Linked DNA regions of Homo sapiens: regions 1 and 2 are each linked to region 3. The links are contacts of gene promoters, found by promoter capture Hi-C in blood cells and fetal thymus (Javierre and others, 2016). All regions are on one chromosome and are shown on one strand. Each heading gives the region's core, a stretch centred on a gene start or on the middle of the fragment in contact. The rest is flanking DNA. Distances are from core to core; before and after follow the strand shown.

Evidence for each region. Contacts are between HindIII fragments. The CHiCAGO score rates a contact against its expected background, and 5 or more counts as called.
Region 1: a contact is called between a fragment that was not itself captured here and the fragment with the promoter of ZNRF4 in region 3, in 1 of 17 cell types (M1 macrophages). The highest score is 5.4, in M1 macrophages.
Region 2: a fragment that was not itself captured here is called in contact with the fragment with the promoter of ZNRF4 in region 3 in 5 of 17 cell types (M1 macrophages, activated CD4 T cells, total CD8 T cells and 2 more); the score reaches 5.3 in M1 macrophages.

Annotation. Positions count from the first base shown.
Region 1 is chr19:5,209,474-5,212,720 of GRCh38, forward strand. PTPRS (protein tyrosine phosphatase receptor type S) reads right to left here. Exons shown (of 38, transcript NM_002850.4): 31 at 2,864-3,018; 32 at 2,492-2,777; 33 at 2,117-2,295; 34 at 1,206-1,332; 35 at 996-1,121. Among named protein-coding and RNA genes, the nearest start is that of PTPRS-AS1, 33 kb to the left of the region's middle. The HindIII fragment of the contact is 5,344 bases long and covers 1-3,247 here.
Region 2 is chr19:5,232,898-5,236,416 of GRCh38, forward strand. The region is part of intron 13 of PTPRS (protein tyrosine phosphatase receptor type S); the gene reads right to left. Among named protein-coding and RNA genes, the nearest start is that of PTPRS-AS1, 57 kb to the left of the region's middle. The HindIII fragment of the contact is 1,424 bases long and covers 1,339-2,762 here.
Region 3 is chr19:5,454,034-5,457,235 of GRCh38, forward strand. It overlaps ZNRF4 (zinc and ring finger 4), which reads left to right and starts at 1,384. Exons shown (of 1, transcript NM_181710.4): 1 at 1,384-2,823. The coding sequence starts at 1,459. The coding sequence ends at 2,748. The HindIII fragment of the contact is 7,810 bases long and covers 1,247-3,202 here.

The DNA.
Region 1 (3,247 bases), core at 113-2,612, 240 kb before region 3:
TCCAATGTACCATCTTTCCCTGATGTTTTACATTTTCTAAAATCTCCTTTCCCAACCCCATCTTCCTCAATCTTGTACCACCCATTGGTTTATACCATTGACTATTGTTTACTGTCCTTTCTTAGTCCTAGTATTTCCCATTGATTTTCTCCACCCCCTGCTGGCCAAACATTTGCCCTTCTCCAATTCTGTCTTCCTCCATCCATCACTGATAAAGCATCACCCTTCACTGACCCAAACTACCACATTCCACTGACATTCTCCATCCTGTTATGCGAATGTTCTTCTCTCCAATTCCAGATTCCACCCCTCCAAGGGCACCATCTTGCACTGCTCACAGCACAATGCCCGGTGATTGCTGTTCATTCAGCAGCCTTCACCATCCTTTGGCATCATCTTGGCCAACATTCCCCATCCTCTATCATCCCCTCACTGCGTTCTCTACCATCGTCGATCTTCCACCACTAACTTTGATCCTTTGTCACCCAACAGGGCCACCTTCCACTATGAGTCTTCATCTGTTGCCACCTAATACCTGGCCTTTCTCCCTCCACCTGACACTGCAGTCCTTCATTGAGCCAACACCATCCATACTCATCTCTCCTCACCCAACGGTGCCAGTCCCCACCATCTGACTCTCCTTGTCCACCGTCTACCACCCCTCACCCTCAATCCCTCAAGTCCCTTTCAGCCCTTTAACATCATCCTCCACAGGTGGCTGCTTCCAGAGGAAAGCCCCATTCACTTCCTTGAATATCATCCCCTGGGGCCATGTTCCCTAGTGAGTGGAGACACTGCAGGGTCAGCACAGAGATAAGACCCTCTCTTCCACCTATGTGGCAGTAGAAGCAAGTGGCCAACTGGTCAGCTGACACTTCTCCTGATTCCCAATGCTTATGCCTAACCCTTGGCCTTTGTATCCATCACCAACCAGGGCAGCCCTTTCCAGATCACTAAGGCTCCAGCCCCTCCCGCCAGTCTGTCTCTTCACTCACCCGGGCATCTGTGACCTTGAACTCTCGCAGGATATACTGAGGCATGTTGTATTCTGCCATCGGATCTACCACAAAGTACTGGTAGCGGGCAGAGCGCTCGGCCGGCCAGTACTGGTGACACTTCTCCTGTGGAGGAGATGGCGGCCGTGGTCAGCGCTGTCTGAGCCACAGTCTGGCCCTCGCCCTTCCCTGCTGTGGCCCCTAGCTCACCCGGCCCATCTCCCGCAGCTTGGTCAGCATCACCACGATCGTCGAATTGTTCTCCCACAGCATGCGCCAGAAGTCTTCCGTGGTCTCCGCCAGCGGCCCCTGTGTCGCGATGTAGGCCTTCTGCTGCCTGCAGGCGTTGGGGGTATGAGCCCAGGGCCGGCAGGGAGACCCGGCGTGGTACTCACCTGATGCTGCCCGGGAGGGTCAGGACCAAGCCAGTGACAGCTACACCTACCACCCCACTGCCTGCCAGGAATGGCTGCTGGGTGCACCACTTCCCCTCCTGGTGATCCCATTTTGCATGTGGGGAAACCACCAGTCTCATGACAAATTCAAATCCCTTGACAAAGCTGCGGGACTATCCACTAACCTCTCCTGATTTCTTCCCTCCATCTCCTTCAAGGGCCACTGCCCTACTTTCAGTTGCTTGCGTGGGCCAAGCTCTCAGCCCCGGGCCTTTGCACATGTGGCACCCTCTGCCAGGAACACCCTCCCCTCCTTTGCCAGGATTTCTCAATCTCAGTGCTATTGACATTTGGCGCTGGATTGTTCTCTGAGACAAGCTGTTCTGTGTACTGTAGGATGCTGAGCAGCATGCCTGGTCCCCACCCAGGCAGTACCAGTAGTACTCATGAAAATAAGAAATATCCTCAGGGTGTCAGAATTACCCCAATTGAGAACCACTGATAGAACAGATGGAATCACATTATGGACAGCAGCCATCAGTTAAACACACACCCAAAGATTCACGGACAGCAGCCATCAGTTAAATATACATCTAAAGATGTGTATTTAAACAGCTCAGGGCTACCAGTATCTCCCCAGCTCTGTCTCCCACAAGACTGGAGGCCTCTTGAGAGTAGAGATGGGCTCCTTCTGGGGCCCTGAGGTGGGAAAGGCATGGCACCTACCTGTAGCCATCAATGAAGCTGGCGTTGATGTAGTCAGAGCCCTCCACACCCCGGATGGGTTGCAGACAGACCCGTGTGCTCTCATAGGGCATGATGTTCACCAGGCGGTTCTTGAACTTGTTACAAGGCAGATTGGCACTGATGAAGCGTGACGTGTGGGCCTTGGAGTTAGCCAGCCGCTGTGGGGAGGAGGAAGCCAGAGGCCACCATCAGGATGAGGAAGGCTATGCTTTCAGCTGGAGCACCAATGGTGGATAGGTAGGTAGGGGCACCCTGCCACCACCTTCTAGTCCCCATTGCTCGAGGCGGGCCTGATTTTCGGCTCTTTGGGCCTCCTCCCCACCCCGCCCACAGCAGCCTCCACCCCGCTGGCACCTTGAACTCGAGTTCCATGCCAGTGACGTGTTCGCCAGGCTCCACCTGGGCCAGCTTCTGGATGTAGGCATAGAGGCTGCGTGCGGGCACTTCTGTGTTGCCACAGCCCACGGCCTCCAGCAGGGCCTCGTGGATGAAGCTGTACTGGTCCTCCGTCTGCACCATGTAGTTGCGCTGGGACCTCATGAGCGTCACGTGGCCATAGACATCGACTGTCTTCTCTGGCTTGATCCGCTCAAGCATGGCGTCGATGACGATAAAGCAGCCTGTGCGGCCCACACCGGCACTGCAGGGACAGCCACGTGGCGTTCAGGGGCTGCTGGGCTGCGGGGACCGGGGGGAAGCGGATGGGGCAGAGTGGGGTGGACGTACCTGCAGTGAACCACGATGGGGCCGGCATCTGGCGGGTTGCAGGTCTTGACTCTCCGCAGGAAAGCCAGGAAGGGCGTTGGGTATTCGGGCACGCCATGGTCCGGCCACGCCGTAAACTGGAACTGGCGGACCTCGCGTTTCTCACTGGAGCCATTCTGGGGACCACAAGGATGTCACCTGTCACTCCGGCTCAACCTGCCACCCATGTGCTGAAGATGCCCAAGTGGCCGGGTGTGGTGGCTCATGCCTGTTATCCCAGCACTTTGGGAGGCCGAGGTGGGCGGATCACCTGAGGTCAGGAGTTCGAGACCAGCCTGACCAACATGGAGAAACCTCGTCTCAACTAAAAATACAAAATTAGCTAGGCATGGTGGTGCATGCCTG
Region 2 (3,519 bases), core at 801-3,300, 220 kb before region 3:
CCAAGGGCTTCACAAAATAACAGTAAAAGCATCCATTTATTGAACACCTAGTATGTGCCTGGCGCCATGCCAAGGGGAGCGGCAACAGAAGCTCCATTTATTAAGCACCTACTATATGCCAGGCACCACGCCAAGGGAAGCAGCAACAAAAGCTCCAATTATTGGGTACCTAGTATGTGCCAGGAACCATGCCAAGGGGAATGGCAACAGAAGCTCCAATTATCAGGCACCTACTACGTGTCAAGCATTGTGCTAAGGCTTCATAGAATGGTAACAAAATAATCTATGTCGAACACCTATGTGCCAGGCACCGTGGCAAGGGGAACAGCAACAGAGCTCTATTAGACACCTACTATGTGCCAGCGCCAAGCACTTCACGAAATAATAGTAAAAGCATCTATTTATTGAACACCTACTATGTGCCAGGTACCATGCCAAGGGGAATGGCAATAGAAGCTCCATTAAGCACCTACTACGTGCCAGGTACCATGCCAAAGGGAACAGCAACAGAAGCTCCATTTATTAACTACCTACTATGTGCCAGGCACTGTGCCAAGGGGAATGGCAACAGAAGCTCCATTAGGCACCTACTATGTGCCAGCACCAAGGGCTTCACAAAATAATAGAGCATCTATTTACTGAATATCTAGTATGTGCCACGCATCATGCTAAGGGGAACAGCAATAGAAGCTCCACTTATCAGGTACCTACTGTGTGTCAAGCATTGTGCCAAGGGCTTCATAGAATAATAGCATAAGAATCTCGGCCGGGCGCAGTGGCTCACTCCTGTAATCCCAGCACTTTGGGAGGCCGAGGTGGGTGGATCACGAGGTCAGGAGTTAGAGAGACCAGCCTAGCCAACATGGTGAAACTCCGTCTCTACTACAAGATACAAAAAACTAGCCGGGCATGGTGGCGGGAGCCTGTAATCCCAGCTACTCGGGAGGCTGAGGCAGGAGAATCACTTGAACCTGGGAGGCGGAAGTTGCAGTGAGCCAAGATCGTGCCACTGTACTCCAGCCTGGGCAACAGGGCAAGACTCCATCTCCAAAAAAAAAAAAAAAAAAAAAAAAAAAAAAATCTATATGTCACACACTATGTGCCAGGCAACAGCAATAGAAGCCCCAATTATTAGCTACCTACCATGTGCCAGGTGTCATGCCAAGGGCTTCATACAATAACAGCAAATGCACTTATTTACTGGCCACCTACTGTAGGTCAGGCATGGTGCCAAGGGCTTCATAATAATTTACGGAAAATATGGTAAAATTTTTCTTGTAGTAAAAGCATTTATTTACTGAACACTTGTGCTACCAGGGACCCAAAGCCCATCCCAAAAGCTTACTTCAACTAGGACCATCCAATTGGCCTCACTTGAAAATAATGCCCATGTCTTGAGCACCTACTGTGTGCCAGATAGAATGTCAAGGGCTTTATCAAGTAATAATAAAAGTGCCTGTTTATTGGACACCTACTGGTGTCAGGTACCAGGCTCAGGACTTCATAGCTCATATTGAGCACCTACTGTGTGCCAAAATCTTTAAAGATCACAGCACTTCTGTGTTCAGTCCCAACTATGCACCTGGCACCACACTACATCTACTACTAACCTATCAACAGCAAGTCTCATTTATTGAACATCTACTATGGACTGGGTACGGTAACAGGTCTCTGAAGAGAAAAACAGCAGTTGTCATTTAAGCAGCACCTACTATGTGCCAGGCACTGTGCCAAAGGCTCTCTCAGAAAACAGTAGTAGTCCCTGCATATTAAACCCCTACTGCGTGCCAGGCACTGTGCTAAGGGCTGTATCAGAAAAGTTAATAGTCCCCATGTATTAGGCCCCTACTGTGTGCCAGGCACTGTGTTAAAGGCTTCATCAGAAAACGATAGTAGTCACCACATATTAAGCACCTATTGTGTGCCAGGTGCTGTGCTGGGGCTTACTGAAAAACAGTAAGTTTCCACATATGAAGCACCTACTATGTGTCAGGCAACTCTACTAAGGGCCTTACGGAATGTTAATAGTTTTCATTTCTTTCTTTCTTTTTTTTTTTTTTTTTGAGACAGTCTTGCTCTGTCGCCCAGGCTGGAGTGCAGTGGCGCGATCTCGGCTCACTGCAAGCTCTGCTGCTCGGGTTCACGCCATTCTCCTGTCTCAGCCTCCCGAGTAGCTGGGACTACAGGCGCCCGCCACCACGCTCGGCTAATTTTTTGTATTTTTAGGGGAGACGGATTTTCACCATGTTGGCCAGGATGGTCTCGATCTCCTGACCTCGTGATCCGCCCACCTCGGCCTCCCAAAGTGCTGGGATTACAGGCATGAGCCGCCGCGCCCGGCCAATAGTTTTCATTTCTTAAGCACCTACTGTGTGCCAAGCATCGTGCTAAGGGCTTTATTGGATAACTGTAACAGCACCTGGCACCGTGTGCCAGGCATTGCACTCAATACCTTATATAAAAATAGTAATAGTTCTTATTGAGCACCTACTATTTGCACACACTGTGCCAAGGGCTTTGCAGATAATAAGTGAATGTTTTCAGTAAAAACTGTGTAACCAGCCCTATCCCACACCCTTTCAAACTGATAATGGTGCCCATCTGAGCATCTACTACGTGCCTCACACTTAGGCCACCTCTTTATAGCAAGTGCCACTTATTGAGCACTTACTGTATGTCAGCCATTGTGCCAAGAGGTTTGCAGAACAATAATTGTTGCCACCCATGTTTTGAGTACCTACTGTGCGCCTGGCACTAGGCTAAGCTTGTTATAAACTGCTAATAGCTTCCATTTACTGAGTGCCAACTAGGTGCCCAGCACTGTGCCAATCCATATGTAGATTTAAAACAGTGGCTGTATTAATGGGGCACCTACTGTGTGCCAGGCAGTATGTTAAGGTCTTTGCTGAATAACACTGAGAGTTCCCGCATATTAAAGGGAACTGTCTGTGTGTTAAAGGCTTATGAATCAGTAAGTCTCTATGTGTTGCGTGCCTACTATGGCCAGACGCTGTGCTGAGGGCATTAGTGATAATAAACTTCATTTTCTGCACGCCTACTGCAGGTGCAGCACCCTCAGCCCATGTTTCATGTATTATCTCATTTAACGCATGTATCATCTCATTTAATGCATGCATTATCTCATTTAATTCTCACAACCCCTCAGGTGGTCAGAACTGTCACTCCCCACCCGCCACCCCGCGTCAACGGTGGGGAAACCAGATTCCAAAGTCTGCCTGCTGGGCTTTCTACAGTCACTGGTTGTGTACCGACTGTGGCCAGACCCCACCCTGGAAGCTTTTCATTATTTTGTATAACACCTCTCAATCTTGCCGAAAAACCAGAAGTGCAGCCCATTTTACAGGTGAGCCCATTTTACAGGTGAGGAAACTGAGGCTCAGAAACAGCAAGCTACCTGTCCAGGGGCATGCAGTGATGAGGTGGCAGAGCCAGGATTGGAACCCAGACTTGGCCGTGATTCACAGGCTGGCTTGGTTTGAGGTTGGCAGCTCAGATCTC
Region 3 (3,202 bases), core at 134-2,633:
GTAGCGGGCTCATTGACAAGACAGTACTGGGTTCGTTGACTTATGGAGCTCATTCGACTGGGGACCTCTAGGAGATATGGTAGAACATACTTCGATTTGTCCCATAAGAGGGACGAGGGAGTGGGGGCATTTATCTACCACCTCCCATCTGTCACTGGCTGAGGGCTGCTCTGAGAGGTATTAGGCCAACACAGAAAATCTAAAGACTAAGTAGTCAGCCTGGCAAAGTGAAGTTGAGGAGCAAGAATTCTGTTCCAGGCAGAGGGAACAGCATTTGCAAAATTCTAGAGGTGAACAAAGCAAGATGCCTCTGGGACATTGCAAATCATCCAGGCTTCAGAGATTGGCAGGCGCCCAACCACAGGGGTGCATGTAGGCCACAGAGAAGAGTGTGGGCTTTATCTGGAGGGCAATGGGGAGCCATGGGAGAGTTTAGAGCATGGGAAAGACTATGTTACAGGTCTGGAAGCTGAGGCCCAGAGAGGCTAAGGAATTTAGCTGATGTCATACAGCTTATGAATGGCAGAGACAGAAATCCGACTTGAGTGGGCTGCAGACAGATTGAGGGTGTGAAATTTGGGGGATGGGGACTGGGGAGGAGGTGAGGCTGATGCCCAGGGCTGAAGCTCAGGCAGGGGGCACAGTTGGAGACCCAGCTGGAGAGGCAATGCTATAGGGAGAGAGAATGAAGCTGGTGCAAGCCTGGAGGCCAACCTGGCGGTGCGGACTTGGGACCACTGACCCCCACCAGCCCCACCCTGACCCTGGCACTTGACTCTCCCTCCAAATCAAGTCCAGGAGGGCTCTGAGGATATATGGACTCAGACCTGAGTCCGGATAAAAGAGCCAGCTACGGAGAGAAAGGGCTTTCCAGGCAGGAGGCCCAGCCCATGCAAAGGCCCTGGGGCAGGATCCTGCCTGGTGTGTTGGAGGAACAGCAAGGAGATCTGTGTGGCTGGAGCAGAGTGAGGGATGGTGACAGGGGGTCAGGAATTTGGGTTTTAAGCACTGATCTCATTGTAGGGGGGCGTGGCTTGAACAAGTCTGGGTCACTCTTGGAGTCTCAGACAAGGGTAACATTGAACCTTCTACAGTGTGTTGCTAGGAACCTCCAGAAGCTGATGCTGGTAGCGTCTTCGCACAGTGAGGGCTGAATCTGCACTGCTGGGGGCCGGCAGCCCTTTTGAAGCATCCCTGGGCCTCCTTGGGTCCAAAGATACCCTGAGCCTTCAAGAAGTTATCTCAAAGCTTGCCCGGGTACCGGCAAATCACAGACCTAGGAATGATCCATTGGCCACAGGCCCAGGCAGCTGGCAGCTCCTGGGACAGAATGTAGCAGGGCGATGTCACAGAAGCTGGGGGCATCTAGAACCCTGGTGACTCCTGGTCTCCATGTCATCTGCCAGAAAGGCCACCTGCGCCAGCACCTCCTGAGACCGGCCTTCAAAGACACGACGCATGCCGCTCTGCCGTCCGGAGCACTTAATGCCTAGAGCCAGCAGGGTCCCAGTGGCCGCGTCACTGCCTCTGAGCCACGCGGTCATTCCAACTCAACTGCCCTCGCGTCCTGGCCACAGGCCCCCTGGGAGACCCCGGAGATGCCCAAAGGCCTCATGCCTGCCGCCTCCAGTGGGACCTAGCAGCACACAGACAGCGAAGCGGGTGACCATGGGGTGGCCACGGCCGGGCCGAGCCCTCGTGGCAGTCAAAGCCTTGCTGGTCTTGTCGCTGCTCCAGGTGCCCGCGCAGGCAGTGGTACGGGCCGTGCTGGAAGACAACTCGAGCTCGGTGGACTTTGCGGATCTGCCGGCGCTGTTCGGCGTCCCCCTGGCCCCCGAGGGCATACGGGGCTACCTGATGGAGGTCAAGCCAGCCAACGCGTGCCATCCCATCGAGGCCCCGCGACTGGGCAACCGCTCTCTGGGCGCCATCGTGCTGATCCGCCGCTACGACTGCACCTTCGACCTCAAGGTGCTGAACGCCCAGCGCGCCGGCTTCGAGGCGGCCATCGTGCACAACGTCCACTCCGACGACCTCGTGAGCATGACCCACGTCTACGAGGACTTGAGGGGCCAGATCGCCATCCCCTCAGTGTTCGTGAGCGAGGCCGCCTCGCAGGACCTGCGGGTCATCCTGGGCTGCAACAAGTCGGCCCACGCGCTGCTCCTGCCCGACGACCCACCGTGCCACGACCTGGGCTGTCACCCCGTGCTGACCGTGTCCTGGGTGCTGGGCTGTACCCTGGCCCTGGTCGTATCAGCCTTCTTTGTCCTGAACCACCTGTGGCTCTGGGCCCAGGCCTGCTGCAGCCACAGACGGCCGGTGAAGACGTCTACCTGCCAGAAGGCCCAGGTCCGCACCTTCACGTGGCACAACGACCTGTGTGCCATCTGCCTGGATGAGTATGAGGAGGGCGACCAACTCAAGATCCTGCCCTGCTCCCACACCTACCACTGCAAATGCATTGACCCCTGGTTCTCCCAAGCCCCCCGGCGCTCCTGCCCCGTGTGCAAACAGTCGGTGGCCGCCACAGAAGACAGCTTTGACTCCACCACCTACAGCTTCAGGGACGAGGACCCCTCCCTACCGGGCCACCGGCCCCCCATCTGGGCCATTCAAGTCCAGCTACGCTCCCGGAGGCTGGAGCTGCTGGGCCGCGCCAGTCCCCACTGCCACTGCAGCACCACGTCCCTGGAGGCAGAGTATACCACTGTCTCCTCAGCCCCTCCTGAGGCCCCTGGTCAGTAAAGATCTAGGGCAGGGAGGGGGGTGCAATGAGGAATGTTTCTGGTCTGAAAAGAATAAAGTGGGTTTGAAAGCGGATTCTCAGCCTCGCTGCTGTTGGGCCACCCGCCTCTGACTGGGGTTGGGGGACACCCATCCCCATCAAGCCTAAGGCCAATCCCCGTTTCTGCGGGCGGGAGAGCGAGGGGTGGTGAGGGCTGGGGGGCCTTTTTGGGGCGGCTGTGACCGTGGTGCCGGAGTGGCTTTGAGACGGGTCGTCTGTGCTTTGGTTCCAGTCCCGGGCACACGGGTCACTCATCCTGGATGGCCTTATTCTTCATTCACATTTTTTCTTTTAAAATAAACGTTTTATTTTGGAACTGGTTTAGATTTCCAGAAAAGTTGCAAAGGTGCCATAGAGTTCTCCAACCCCTTTTACTCCGTTTCCTCTTATGTCTCATGGGATCCCAGGTGTGAT